Linked DNA regions of Homo sapiens: regions 2, 3, 4 and 5 are each linked to region 1. Evidence: promoter capture Hi-C in human tissues and cell types (Jung and others, 2019). All regions are on one chromosome and are shown on one strand. Each heading gives the region's core, a stretch centred on a gene start or on the middle of the fragment in contact. The rest is flanking DNA. Distances are from core to core; before and after follow the strand shown.

Region 1 (2,928 bases), core at 146-2,645:
CCTTTGCTTCCCTCTGGACTAGAGAAAGGTCAACCTGTTTCTTATACATGAAGCGAGGATCCAAAATTTCTATAGTGAGCGGTGGGTGGGTTAGCGACAGCCATTGGTGGTAGTAGGGCTTGAAAATGCACGCTCATAGTCCTTTGCATAAGATTAAGAAAACGACTGTTTTGTACATCAGACGGACATTCAAGGGCAGGGGCGCAAAACCCCTCCTCCAAGCCCCTTTTTGTCACTATCCGCTGCTCCTCATTCCTGCCTTTTGCCTGGCTTTCTGGGAGAGAGGGCAAAAAGGGAGAAGGGGAAGTGTCTTGACTTCTAAGAGTGATGGGTGACTAAGGGGGAACTACCATTTATTAAAGACCTAGTACATGCCATGCACTTATACCCGTTACCGCATTTAAACCTCCTAACTATGAGGTAGGTATTATTATGTAACAGAGTATAGCAGTAAATAGCACCGTCCTTGGAAATAGGCAGACTGTTTTTGCTAGTTGTGGAACCGTGGACAAGTTTAGTCTAAAACTTAGTTTATGTAAAAGGAGGACATTGATTCCTACCTCAAAGGGCTGTTAGATGCTCAAGAAGTGACAATACAAATGCCTATGAAGAAACAGGATCAGGTAATTTGCTTGCTCAAGGTCAGGTGATTTAGTAAGAGGCTGACCTCGGATTCTGGTTCCAGCTTATCTAACTCCACAGCCAATGTTCTTTCCACTATCACTCAGTAGTTATAATCATCTTTTTTTGTTTGTTTGTTTGTTTTGAGACAGAGTCTCGCTCTGTTGCCCAGGCTAGAGTGCAGTGGCACAATCTTGGCTCAGTGCAACCTCCGCCTTCCAGGTTCAAGAGATCCTCCAGCCTCAGTCCCCCTAGTAGCTGGGATTACAGGCACGCGCCACCGTACCCGGCTAATTTTTGTATTTTTAGTAGAGACGGGGTTTCACCATGTTGGCCAGGCTGGTCTCGAACCCCTGACCTCAGGTGATCCACCCGCCTCGGCCTCCCAAAGTGCTGGGATTACAGGCGTGAGCCACCGCTCCCAGCCTTATAATCATCTTGTCCAAGTATCGTTAAGTCCTCTGAGGCTCTGATTCCTCATATGCAAAATGGGGTTAACATATTTTATAAAATTCATTCATTAAACTCTTGTGTGGAAGGTGTGCATATAATGGAGACTGCAGCTCCCTCCTCTTTCCCCTTTTCATTCCACGTAGGTCATTTATCCTTAACTTCTAAAATGGACTCTACAAGCACTTAACCGAGCGGACGCAGCTATACAAATACTTTTCAGATTCCCCTTTATTTCCTCTTCTTTCCCACTCCACCTAGGATCCCGCCCCAACCAGCGCCAGGCCACGCCCCGGCGTGTGACGCAAGCACGCTCCGTGCGCGCCGTCGCGTCGCGGCGCTCACTGGGGGCCCGGCTTTCGCCCGCTGCTGCCGCCGCCGCCGCCGGCCGCGGCTGCACTCCCAAGATGGCGGCTCCTCCGGGCGAGTACTTCAGCGTTGGGAGCCAGGTGTCGTGCCGGACGTGCCAGGAGCAGCGGCTGCAGGGCGAGGTGGTAGCCTTTGACTACCAATCCAAAATGCTGGCTTTAAGTATCCTTCCCTGCGTGAAGCCCGAGTCCGGGCCGGCGTGTAGGTGCGGTGGTCGGGGGGTGGGGGACGACGGCGGCGGCTGGGGCTCTCTCCGGGCCTAGGGGCGACCGGCTACCGCGGCGCCCGGGGCGCATGCGCACGGCCCTGAGCTCCCCTCCCCCTCCCGCGGGCCCTTCGGTCAGCTTTGGGGATCCTGTCTCTCTCTCTTTGCGGGAGCTGGGGCTTTACCGAGGATCAGTGGGTGGAGGAGGGCTTGACACGGGGATGGCTTTTTGGGGGGAACGTTATGAGAGGGGACACAGTAATTAGGAGAGGGGGTGGTGGTGGGAGGGGGCTGATGGATTGGAGCCCGGATGGAAAGGAGGGGCGGGTGAAATATTATGGGGAGGGGTGTTTAGGGTAAGGAACTGCTGGTAGGGCAAAGGTATGGAATTTAGGAGGGCATGTGCACTGATGGGATTTCGTCCAAGGAAGGGCGGTGGGATGGTGACCAAATTGGTCCTTGCCTGTTTTGGGGGAGAGTAAGTTCAGGGCAGAGTTTGTATCTGAGCTAGGGATAGTGGCTTGTTTCGCTGATGCGTGTGTATGTGTGGTGGGGGGGCTGTGCTGATTTTTAGGCTTCTCGGTCATTTGGAAGTTGCTGTTTAGGGGATGTTTGCACTGGAAACCTGTTCCAGAGAGGGCTTGCCAGGGGCTTATGTGGTTTGGGGATGTGTGAGTTACAGGTGAAAGAGTGAAGTTCTCATGCTGCCTTGATCAGTCCAGCACATGGAGTCCTTTTACGTAGTAGCAGCCTCCCTTTTGAAAGTAGCAATGTTAAACTGATTGGAAAAGGTGGCCTGCTTCTTTGGGGTGGAAGTGACTTCTGAATTACTCCAGGAAACTCAGTCTTGGAAATGAAACACTTCCTTGTTGGGATAAATGTGCCACGGCTTCCCTTTTTATGTGAGCCACAGGTGGGTTTATTGGAATTTTTTTTTGGAGGAGTAATTTTTTATGGCATCTTTTTTTTTTTTTTTTTTTTAAGATGGAGTCTCGCTCTGTCGCTAGGATGGAGTGCGGTGGCGCAATCTCGGCTCACTGCAACCTCCGACTCCCTGGTTCGAGCGATTCTCCTGCCTCAGCCTCCGGAGTAGCTGGGATTACGGGCACGCGCCACCACGCCCAGCTAATTTTTGTATATGTTTTTTTTTAACAGAGATGGGGTATCACCATGTTGGCCAGGATGGTCTCGAACTTCTGACCTCGTGATCCGCTGGCTTCAGCCTCCCAAAGTGCTGGGATTACAGGCCTGAGCCACCGCCCGGCTTTTTTTTTTGTTGTGTT
Region 2 (2,928 bases), core at 162-2,661, 470 kb before region 1:
GCCTGGCTAATTTTTAAGTTGTCTGTAGAAAAGAGGGTCTCACCACATTGCCCAGGCTGGCCTGAAACTCTTGGGCTTAAGCCATCCTCCTGCCTCCCAAAGTGCTGGGATTACAGGCCTGAGCCACCATGCCAGGCCTCTTGCCCCAAACAATCGTTTGCTGGAAGATTAAATGAGAAAAATAGTGCTTTGCCCTCCAGCCGATTGAGGCAGAAGTGAGAGCTGGGTGGGGCCAGTGAGTTTTGTCTGGAGAAGTTGGAATAGGATGGAAGAGGCGCAGGCTGTGGGTGGCGGGAGGCTCTCTGTAGGGCGAGATGGAGGTTTACAGCTGGGCTGCCACGGAATTTGGAAACTAACATCAGCATAAGGCCTGGATGATTCATTGCTGCAGCGAAGCTTCTGGGGTTCAAAGAAGGAAGGTCTAGAGGGCTGGAGCCTGCAGAAAACGCTTCAAGGAGCAGCGTGAGGTTTGAAAAGCCAGCGAGCAGCGGGTGATGTGGAGCTCCAAGCTCATTGCTTGGAGAAAAGGGCTGGTTGGGACAAAGGGTCTGATTGGAGTCAGGCCCGCTGCCTCTGGCGGGTGGCCTCCCTCGCTAGCGGTAGGCCTCGCGGGAGAGGGGAGCATCTGAGGATTGCATTTTAGGGCCACAGCGCCCTCTGCTGGACATGGGGACCTGGGGCAGCAGCACGAGTGGGAGCAGGTGACAAAATGTGCGGGAAAAGGTCTGTGCCAGATAGGGTCCTTCCCATTCCCAAGCACCCCTAGGAGGATCACACGATTGGAATCCCTTAACAAGTATAGGAAGTTTATAGAAAATGAGCAAGTCTTGAAGTGTAGCCACCTATTGGTTCATCTTTATTTGCTCACAGTTGGTGTAGATGAACGTGTACTACATTGAGTTTATTTCATCTCGTAATCCTTTGGAGTTATAGGACTGTGGGTTAGAGGCAAATAATAATAACAGCTAATGCTTGTATAGCCCTATGATGTGCCAGGTGCAATTTTATATTATTTTACAGATGAGGAAACTGAGGCACAGAGAAATTTAAATCACCAGCATAACATGACATAGCTGACATAGAAGAGCCAGTATGACTGCAGAGTGTGTACACAAAACCACCACTTCCTACTATTTCTCTGAAATAATCAAGGCCATTTTCCCCTTTACATGAGGTATGGTAAGTCCTGGGTGCTCCATGAATCTAGACCTTCCTAGTTCTGTTCCTGATTCTCAGACCGCTGCTAATTTTTTTTTTTTTTTTTGAGACAGGGTCTTGCTTGATTGCCCAGGCTGAAGTGAAGTGGCATTATCTTGGCTCACTGCACCCTTGACCTCCCTGGCTCAAGCAATCCTCCTGCCTTAGCCACTCGAGTAGCTACAGGCGTGTGCCACCATGCCTGGCTAATTTGTGTATTTTTTTAGGGACAGGGTTTTGCCATGCTGTTCAGGCAGGTCTCGAACTCCTGAGCTCAAGCAATCTGCCTGCCTCAGCCTCCCAAAGTGCTGAGATTACAGGCATGAGCCACAGCTCCTGGCTTAAAGAATTTTTTTTTTTTTTAAGTCAGGGCTGGCTGGGCGCAGTGGCTCACGCCTGTAATTCCAACACTTTGGGAGGCCAAGGCGGGCAGATCACTTGAGGTCAGGAGTTCGAAACCAGCCTGGCCAACATGGTGAAACCCCGTCTCTACTAAAAATACAAAAAAATTCGCTGGGCGTGGTGGCATGTGCTTGTAATCCCAGCTACTCAGGAAGCCAAGGAAGGAGAACTGCTGGAACCTGGAAGGCTGAGGTTGCAGTGAGCCAAGATCGCACCACTGCACTCCAGCCTGGGTGACAGAGCAAGCCTCCATCTCAAAAAAAAAGTCAGGGTTGACATTTATTGGTTTGTCATGCATGTCGGGGAGAAAAAGCCATCTCTTTTCTTCACCCATCACAAGGTTCATAGCTGACACCACTATAATAAAAGACAGATTAACAAAATAAAAGCATAACAAATTTACTTAACCAAAGTCTTATGTGATATAGGAGGCTTCAGAAATGAAGACCAAAGACCTAGGGAAAATAGTATATTTTTATGCTGAGTCTGAAGAAAGAAATGGATAGCTGTGGAAAAACATGATTAGAGGAAAAGGGGTATGATCTGATGGAAATAAACTGGGAGAGAACTCAGGAAGACCTATCTTTTCAGGTTCTTTTTTTTTTTTTTCCCGAGACGGAGTCTTGCTCTGTCACCCAGGCTGGAGTGCAGTGGCGTGATCTCGGCTCACTGCAACCTCCACCTCCCGGGTTGAAGCAATTCTCTTGCCTCAGCCTCCTGAGTAGCTGGGATTACAAGCACCCGCCACCACACCCAGCTAATTTCTGTATTTTAAGTAGAGACGGGGTTTTACCATGATGCCCAGGCTGGTCTTCAACTCCTGACCTCATGATCTGCCCACCTCAGCCTCCCAAAGTGCTGGGATTACAGGCATGAGCCACCGTGCCCAGCTTTTCAGGTTCTTTTTGTGTGCGTGTGCCTCTATATGACTTTCCTTCAACCTCCTCCCCCACCATTCCCCAGGTATGGTGCAGAACATCTGTCGCATGTGGGTCTTATGACCTAATTTCAGAGGAGATAGGTCAGAGAATTATTTTATAGATAGTGCTCACACAGAAAGGCCAGAGAAGGTCAGTGTGACCTCTGGAGGCTGAGGTGGGAGGATCGCTTGGACCTAGAAGAGTGATCGCCAAGGTACCATGTTTTGGGGTACTGTGTCCTGCACCCTGTCAGGAACTAGATATGTGGCATGCACTGTGCCGAGCACACTGTTGGATTGTCTCACTTAAGCCCAAGAATGGCCCTGTGAGACGACTATTATTATTTTCCTTCTTTGACTAATGGAGAAGTGTCCAGGCATGGCTTAGCTGGGTTCTCCACCCAAGGACT
Region 3 (2,928 bases), core at 287-2,786, 400 kb before region 1:
AGACAGAGCTGTCAGAATCAGCTCCCCAGTACCACATTCTACAAGGTGCATGGTTGGTTAATTGTCTTACACAAGCTATAATTCTGTGGATACTCAACAGTAGCAGTAAATTTAGATGAAATTTGCAACCTAGTATTCATTATTACGATACTTAACAAATATTTTTTAAACCACTAAATTAAATGATATTTAACATATTTTAAGCCTAGAGGGCTACACTGAAATATTTTTGGAAATTTCATTCCTATGGCACATGAGGCTAATGCTATTTTACCTCTCATAATGTCCAGGACTTTTTCTGCCACATATAGCGAGAACAGTATCAGAAGGCAGTCTAATTGAGTAATCATTGTTGAATAATCTCATTCAGTGGGAGTAGAATTGATAATATGCCTTATTTATTAAGTAGTGCTACCTTCTTCACTTAAAATAGCAAATAGTATATAGTACTCAGGCTGGATATTTAATTTTTTTAAATAAATGAATGTTCAGAAATGTATATTAGTAATTACACTTCTAATGAAAATTTACTTCTGAAAGATAAATATATGCATTATTTGTGATGAGATAGTTTAGGTTGTAGGAGAGAACTTCATGGCCTACATTGTATTAGGTAGAAGTAGGGCACAGGATCTGGGAGAATAAACAAAGATGCAAGAAAAAATAAGAAAAAAAAAAAGAAGTATTGACACACAAGATAAGAGGGATCTTATTTCTGTTGCCTGATCATTTGTGAGTAAAATTTTAAGTGTTTTTCTCTTTTTTCAACTTTTTTTTTTTTTTTTTACTTTTTTTGGTCACAGAAAATTTTAAGTTTTAAGAGAAACTCCTACAGTGATTGGCATCAAAGTAGGTAGTGTTCCCTCCCTCCCACCAAACAAAAGAAGTCCCTTATCACCTGAGGAATGCCCACTAAATAATAAGTAAATATTTAATTACATGGCTGGCTGGCTATATTAAGCTGTTTTGTTTTTAGGGGAAAATGGTGTTACTTCTAACACAGAAAGAGTGCTGAATTAAAATCTTTCTCTGCAGCAATATCTATTGAGAGGTGCTGACTGTTTTGCTACAGCATGCAACTCAAAAGTGGCTGAAAATATGCAGCTTTGGGAGTCTACAGATCATTGCAGGAGCTAAAGGTCTAGTCATTTTTTTTTAACCAAAGGTAATCTGCAGCAGCTGGTAACCGTGGAGGTCTCTGCACAGGTTTGTGCCAAGAATATGCCTGTGTGAAGGGTTATTGTGAGTATAGGATTAAGGTCTTTTTATTTTGTAGTAGGCTAAATTTGATGCAAACCAGCAAGATGGGAAATGAGACATGAAGATGCAATAATGTATTATGCTTTTAGTGAACTTCCGAAGCTTAGATTTGTTAGTGAGATATTGGTATTTCAATTTTATTAGGTAAATGTTGAAAATATATCAAAATCCAGTATTTGTAAAGCATTTAATAATATTTTTTGAAGTTTAATTTTCCCTTATTTGCTTCAACCAACCAGATATCTTTCAATGAGATTTTTCCTCAAGAATGAAATATCTTTTTAAGAAAATTATATGAGAATTGCTAAACAACTTGATTATCTCTATTAAAAACAAGTTGAAAAGTGTGAACATTTTATCCCTATTACGAGAAGCTTTGAATTTGAATTTTAAAAATTGTTATTGCTTTATGAGATATTTAGGTCTCAAATGTTATAATTATAACCTCCACTTACTTAAAGACAAAATATTTACAAAACAAAGCTTGATCTAAAGCCATAGCTCCGTCTAGGATTCAATCACAGAAGAATTAATTGGTGTTTTTTAGGATACACGGTCCTTTATGACCTTTATCATAGTTAGAAGATGAGGAATTGGGCGCAGGGGCTCACGCCTGTAATCCCAGCACTTTGGGATGCTGAGGCGGGCAGATGACGAGGTCAGGAGTTCGAGAACAGCCTGACCAACATGGTGAAACCCTGTCTCTACTAAAAATACAAAAAGTAGCCAGACGTGGTGGCACATGCCTGTGCATGTGCTGGGATTACCCAGCTACTCAGGAGGCTGAGGCAGGAGGATTGCTTGAACCTGGGAGGCAGAGGTTGCAGTGAGTCGAGATCACGCCACTGTACTCCAGCCTGGGTGACAGAGCGAGACTCCGTCTCAAAAAAAAAAAAAAAAAAAAGCGCTGGGTGCAGTGGCTCACACCTATAATCCCAGCACTTTGGGAGGCCGAGGTGGGTGGATCACAGGGTCAGGAGATAGACCATTCTGGCTAACACGGTGAAACCCCATGTCTACTAAAAATACAAAACTTAGCCGGGTGTGGTGGCACACGCCTGTAGTCCCAGCTACTCAGGAGGCTGAGGCAGGAGAATCGCTTGAACCCAAGATCGTGCCACTGCACTCCAGCCTGGGTGACAGAGCGAGACTCGATCTCCAAAAACAAACAAACAAAAAAAGATGAGGGATCAGATGGGAGAATGACTTTAAGCTATATAGAAGGCAGAATGCATGCATCATAGACTTAAAACATGTTGTTACTGTTGTGGTTGGAAGTGCAACTACCCATCAGCCGCTAGTCGGTCCTTGCTCTACCTGACTGATTAAAATTCTTTCTTTATGGTTGTCAGGATGACCTAATAGGTTTAAAAATGTAGTGTAAGCTTCAAACTCCAGTTGCTGATGTTTAGTTTGCGCATCTTAAGGATTTGGAAGTATATGTATAATTGGGTTTTGTGATGTTGCATATCTGTCTAGATCTGTGGACTCCACTAGTTCCAAACTGTAATTCTTTATAAGACTGCTGATTTGACATTTAGCAGTGACCATATGTGGACTGCACTAGAAATAATGTGCTTCTTGGAGCTGAATGGTGTAGCATTACTATATGGCTTTTCTCTCTAGTCTTCATTGTGTCATCTGTAGTGAGCTATAGAGTTTTTTTGT
Region 4 (2,928 bases), core at 174-2,673, 320 kb before region 1:
AAACTTGAGTGAAATGTAAGTTCATATTTGGCCTCACAGAATACACCAGTAATACAGCAATCACTCACCTGAGGACAGTGGGAGGATAGAAGGTAAGTAGAGGACTGGGTTAAGTATTCGTTCAAGCAAATACATTAATTACACGCCTCCCATGTACTTGACACTGGGAACTCAGCAATGAAGAAGGCCCAGACCAAAGTTCAGGCTTTTAGCTTCCTGTCCTATAAAGGATAAGATTCTTAACTCTAGGCTGAGGTAGTAAATTACGAGGGGACTTCAAAATGGTACAGGGTGGTTGAGCAGGATACGGCAATGGTTAAGTTTGATCAGAAAATAGAAATCAAAAGGAAAATGTGGCTATGGTTACCCCTAGCGGACCTCTTAAATCTTCCTGAGAACCTGCTTTTTTGGGAAGGCATGAGTGCCAGTAAGACTTGGCACTCCTCCTCTTCCGCTTACCGAGAGAAAATGACTTTGCCTTTCTGCTCAAAACTCATCCCTTCACTTTGTCACCCTATGTTTGCATCTTCCATCCTTAGTGTGTGTTTCCATCCAGTCTTTCAGCAATACACGTACTACACATTGGACTCTTGGGTAGTCTCTAGGGCTGTAGCAAGGAGCCTTGCTCCCAAGGGACTCATTTACACAATCCTGTGAACGGACCAAGAGTAAACAGTGTGCTCAATGCTGTGCCTACGTGTGTTAGCCCACGCGGCCAGCCTGAGGAGTCAGGGAAGGCTCCCCTAGGCAAAGCCCCCAACCAGAATCAAGTCTTAATGGTTAAAGAGCTCCATCACCCAAAAAGGATTGAGGGCCTACCTTCAACTGAACAGCTAATGCATAATCTCAGAAACTGTGAGTCAAAATTCCCTGGAATAACTCCACTTTATCCCCAATCTCCTTGCCACCTAGACCAAGGTCCATTCACCACCCTGTCCCCAGCACTGACTGCACTGCTGTGGCCACACTAAAGCTTGGCTCAAGACGGAGGAGGAGTGAGGAAGCTGCTGCACCAATATGGCTGGTTGAGGCCGCCCAAGGTCCTAGAAGGAGGAAGTGGGTAAATGCCATATCCAAAAAGATACAGAAGCCTCAGGTTTTATCGGGGGCAGCAGCTTCCTTCTCCTTCCCCGACCTGTGGCCAAGTCACAAAGCACCACAGCTGTACAGCCAGATGGGGGAAGGGAGGAGATTAGAACTGTAGGCTAGAGTAGACAAGTATGGACCAGTTCACAATCACGCTATCCCAAGCAGAAAGTGATGGTGGCTTGGACTAGCACGGTGGTAGTAGAGATGGGGTAAAGATTCAAGAGACATCATTGATAGGCAGAACCAATAGGACATGGTAATAAACTATTCTCAGGAAAGGGGAGGAGTCATGGCTTTCAGCCATGAGCATCCACCCTCTGGGTGGCCTCACCCACTTCCTGGCAATTCTAGCCACCATGAGTCCAGGGGCTATAGCCCTTTGCTCTGCCCGTTGCTCAGCAAGTTACTTGGGGTTCCAGTTTGATAAGAAAAGACTTCCTGTGGAGGAATCTGAAGGGAAGGAGGAGGAGCTGGCCCATTCCTGCCTGGGAGGTTGTGGAAGAAGGAAGATGGCCAGAGCTTTGTGTCCACTGCAAGCCCTCTGGCTTCTGGAGTGGGTGCTGCTGCTCTTGGGACCTTGTGCTGCCCCTCCAGCCTGGGCCTTGAACCTGGACCCAGTGCAGCTCACCTTCTATGCAGGCCCCAATGGCAGCCAGTTTGGATTTTCACTGGACTTCCACAAGGACAGCCATGGGAGGTGAGCCGTAAGGGAAGTTGGGGTATTGGGAGAGAGCAGGACCCCTCCCCATCACTGCTTCTGGGGGCTTCGAGTTTCCCATTTGCGATAGCAGTTGAGCAAGGTGACTTGTGGGGCCTATTCAGGTTGATTTCTTGTCAAGAATGTTGGGGTCCAGGGGACTGGCTCAGGTGAAGGTATAAGGGCAGGGCACATGTGGGCTGATGGGCACTGAAAACTACAGCAAGAACAAAGGGAAGACAAGAGTTGATGCTTTATTTTTTCCCCAAGGGTCAGTTGTATGAACCACTCCACCCTCAACACCTTGAAATGCAGAGAGGAGGCCGGGCGCGGTGGCTCATGCCTGTAATCCCAGCACTTTGGGAGGCCGAGGCGGGCAGATCACCTGAGGTCGAGAATTCGAGACCAGCCTGACCAACATGGAGAAACCCCGTCTCTACTAAAAATACAAAAAAAAAAAAAAAAAAGAGACCAGGCACAGTGGCTCACACCTGCAATCCCAGCACTTTGGGAGGCAGAGGTGGGCAGATCATGAGGTCAGGAGTTCAAGACCAGCCTGGCCAATATGGTGAAACCCTGTCTCTATTAAAAATACAAAAATTAGCTGAGCGTGGTGGCACACTCCTGTAGTCCCAGCTACTCGGGAGGCTGAGGTAGGAGAATCACTTGAACCCGGGAGGTGGAGGTTGCAGTGAGCTGAGATCATGCCACTGCACTCCAGCCTGGGTGACAGAGTGACACTCCGTCTCAAAAAAAAAAAAATTAGCCGGGCGTGGTGCCGCATGCTTGTAATCCCAGCTACTCGGGAGGCTGAGGCAGGAGAATCGTTTGAACCTGAGAGGCAGAGGTTGTGGTGAGCCGAGATCATGCCATTGCACTCCAGCCTGGGCAACGAGAGCGAAACTCTGTCTCAAAAAAAAAAAAAAAAAAAAAAGAAAGGAAATGTGGAGAGGAGCACATGTCCTAAATTGATTTGCAGAACTAAAGTTGTCTACCCTCCCGCACCTTGCATTTCTGTTCCATTTCCCTCATCTCCATCAACATTATAAATATTTGAAAAGAAGCAATAGGTCATTAATGATTAGTATTGATCAGGCTTCAGAATCAAGAGTGCCAAGATTAGAGTCTTGGCTCCTCCTCTT
Region 5 (2,928 bases), core at 226-2,725, 320 kb after region 1:
TCATGAGTGTCTCAGGGCCCAGAATATGAGAGCAGGTAGGAAACAGAGACATCTTCCATCCCTGAGAGGCAGTGCGGTCCAGTGGGTGGGGACACGGGCTCTGGGTCAGGTTTGTGTTGTTTGTTTGTTTGTTTTGAGACAGAGTCTCGCTCTATTGCCCAGGCTGGAGTGCAGTGTCACGATCTCGGCTTACTGCAACTTCTGCCTTCCCGGATTCAAGTGATTCTCCTGCCTCAGCCTCCAGAGTAGCTGGGATTACAGGTGCGTGCCACCACGCCTGGCTAATTTTTGTATTTTTGATAGAGACGGGGTTTCACCATGTTGGCCAGGCTAGTCTCGAACTCTTGACCTCAAGTGATCTGCCTGCCTCGGCCTCCCAAAGTGCTGGGATTACAGGCGTGAGCCACCACACCCAGCCCCAGGTTGGTGTTTGAATCTGAGGAGACTGAAGCACCAAGGGGTTAAATGTTTTGCCCACAGCCATACTTGGGCTCAGTTCCTTGCCCTACCCCTCACTTGAGCTGCTTAGAACCTGGTGGGCACATGGGCAATAACCAGGTCACACTGTTTTGTACCAAGTGTTATGGGAATCCAAGATAGGAGTAATTTGCTCTGTGGAGGGGATGAGGGATAGTGGTTAGGGAAAGCTTCACAAAGTGGGTGCTGCTTAGAGATTTTCCAGGTGGAGAAGGGGGCTTCTAGGCAGAAGGCATAGCCCAAGCAAAGACTGCAAGTGCATGGCTGCTCATGGGTAGAAGAGAATCCACCATTCCTCAACATGTACCGAGTCCTTGCCATGTGCAAGGCAACATGGGGGTACCAGGAATTCCAAGCAATGTCCAAACCTAGGGTCTGCTTTCTGGGACCTGAAGATACAGGATGGATCAGCCCAGGCTGCAATCCCATTACCACGAGGGGGAAAAAAACCTGAAGGCTAAATTGTAGGTCGGGTTAGAGGTTATTTATGGAAAGTTATATTCTACCTACATGGGGTCTATAAGCCTGGCGCCAATCAGAAAAGGAACAAACAACAGACCTAGCTGGGAGGGGCAGCATTTTGTTGTAGGGGGCGGGGCACATGTTCTGGGGGTACAGCCAGACTCAGGGCTTGTATTAATAGTCTGAGAGTAAGACAGACAGAGGGATAGAAGGAAATAGGTCCCTTTCTCTCTCTCTGTCTCTCTCTCTCTCACTCTCTCTCTCTCTCTCTCACACACACACACAGACACACACACACGCTCTGTAGGGGTCTACTTATGCTCCAAGTACAAATCAGGCCACATTTACACAAGGAGGTAAAGGAAAAGAACGTTGGAGGAGCCACAGGACCCCAAAATTCCCTGTTTTCCTTGAATCAGGCAGGACTTACGCAGCTGGGAGGGTGGAGAGCCTGCAGAAGCCACCTGCGAGTAAGCCAAGTTCAGAGTCACAGACACCAAAAGCTGGTGCCATGTCCCACACCCACCCACCTCCCACCTGCTCCTTGACACAGCCCTGTGCTCCACAACCCGGCTCCCAGATCATTGATTATAGCTCTGGGGCCTGCACCGTCCTTCCTGCCACATCCCCACCCCATTCTTGGAACCTGCCCTCTGTCTTCTCCCTTGTCCAAGGGCAGGCAAGGGCTCAGCTATTGGGCAGCTTTGACCAACAGCTGAGGCTCCTTTTGTGGCTGGAGATGCAGGAGGCAGGGGAATATTCCTCTTAGTCAATGCGACCATGTGCCTGGTTTGCCCAGGGTGGTCTCGTTTACACCTGTAGGCCAAGCGTAATTATTAACAGCTCCCACTTCTACTCTAAAAAATGACCCAATCTGGGCAGTAAATTATATGGTGCCCATGCTATTAAGAGCTGCAACTTGCTGGGCGTGGTGGCTCACACCTGTAATCCCAGTACTTTGGGACGTCAAGGCGGGTGGATCACCTGAGGTCACGAGTTAGAGACTGGCCTGGCCAGCATGGCAAAACCCCATCTTTACTAAAAATACAAAAATTAGCAAGGCATGGTGGCATGCACCTGTAATCCCAGGTACTCGGGAGGCTGAGACAGGAGAATGGCTTGAACCCAGGAGGCAGAGGTTGCAGTGAGCCAAGATTGTGCCACTGCCCTCCAGCCCTGGCAACAGAGCAAGACTTCATCTCAAAAGAAAAAGGATACTGTCAATCACTGCAGGAAGAACCCAGGTAATGAATGAGGAGAAGAGAGGGGCTGAGTCACCATAGTGGCAGCACCGACTCCTGCAGGAAAGGCGAGACACTGGGTCATGGGTACTGAAGGGTGCCCTGAATGACGTTCTGCTTTAGAGACCGAACCTGAGCCCTGAAAGTGCATGCCTGTTCATGGGTGAGAGACTAAATTCATCATTCCTTGGCAGGTACTGAATCCTTTCTTACGGCTGCCCTCCAATGCCCAATTTCCCTACAATTGTCTGGGGTGCCTAAGCTTCTGCCCACCAAGAGGGCCAGAGCTGGCAGCGAGCAGCTGCAGGTAGGAGAGATAGGTACCCATAAGGGAGGTGGGAAAGAGAGATGGAAGGAGAGGGGTGCAGAGCACACACCTCCCCTGCCTGACAACTTCCTGAGGGCTGGTCATGCCAGCAGATTTAAGGCGGAGGCAGGGGAGATGGGGCGGGAGAGGAAGTGAAAAAGGAGAGGGTGGGGATGGAGAGGAAGAGAGGGTGATCATTCATTCATTCCATTGCTACTGACTGGATGCCAGCTGTGAGCCAGGCACCACCCTAGCTCTGGGCATGTGGTTGTAATCTTGGAGCCTCATGGAGCTCACAGGGAGTGCTGGCAAGGAGATGGATAATGGACGGATAACAAATAAACATTTAGTACAATGTCCGGGAATGGAAAGTTCTCGAAAGAAAATTAAAGCTGGTGAGCATATAGACAGCCCTGAAGGCGGCCAGGCCAGGCATTTCTG

What was found. The method cuts DNA at HindIII sites, captures the fragments that hold promoters and counts their contacts. A contact is called where the count stands out against the background at its distance.
Region 2: a contact is called between a fragment that was not itself captured here and the fragment with the promoter of LSM12 in region 1, in 1 of the 25 tissues and cell types used here (aorta).
Region 3: a fragment that was not itself captured here is called in contact with the fragment with the promoter of LSM12 in region 1 in 2 of the 25 tissues and cell types used here (dorsolateral prefrontal cortex and spleen).
Region 4: a contact is called between the fragment with the promoter of ITGA2B here and the fragment with the promoter of LSM12 in region 1, in 1 of the 25 tissues and cell types used here (spleen).
Region 5: a fragment that was not itself captured here is called in contact with the fragment with the promoter of LSM12 in region 1 in 2 of the 25 tissues and cell types used here (dorsolateral prefrontal cortex and lymphoblastoid cells).

What each region holds. Positions count from the first base shown.
Region 1 is chr17:44,065,138-44,068,065 of GRCh38, reverse strand. LSM12 (LSM12 homolog) reads left to right here and starts at 1,395. Exons shown (of 5, transcript NM_001371445.1): 1 at 1,395-1,602. The coding sequence starts at 1,479. RefSeq lists silencers at 1,313-1,432, 1,723-1,862. The HindIII fragment of the contact is 14,418 bases long and covers 1-2,928 here.
Region 2 is chr17:44,531,427-44,534,354 of GRCh38, reverse strand. No RefSeq gene overlaps it. Among named protein-coding and RNA genes, the nearest start is that of FZD2, 25 kb to the left of the region's middle. RefSeq lists enhancers at 1-436, 437-941. The HindIII fragment of the contact is 6,008 bases long and covers 1-2,928 here.
Region 3 is chr17:44,469,731-44,472,658 of GRCh38, reverse strand. The region is part of intron 2 of GPATCH8 (G-patch domain containing 8); the gene reads left to right. Among named protein-coding and RNA genes, the nearest start is that of GPATCH8, 32 kb to the left of the region's middle. The HindIII fragment of the contact is 3,729 bases long and covers 1-2,928 here.
Region 4 is chr17:44,388,144-44,391,071 of GRCh38, reverse strand. It overlaps ITGA2B (integrin subunit alpha 2b), which reads left to right and starts at 1,423. Exons shown (of 30, transcript NM_000419.5): 1 at 1,423-1,786. The coding sequence starts at 1,599. RefSeq lists an enhancer at 1,207-1,266. The HindIII fragment of the contact is 17,139 bases long and covers 163-2,928 here.
Region 5 is chr17:43,749,664-43,752,591 of GRCh38, reverse strand. No RefSeq gene overlaps it. Among named protein-coding and RNA genes, the nearest start is that of SOST, 7.7 kb to the left of the region's middle. The HindIII fragment of the contact is 3,915 bases long and covers 1-2,928 here.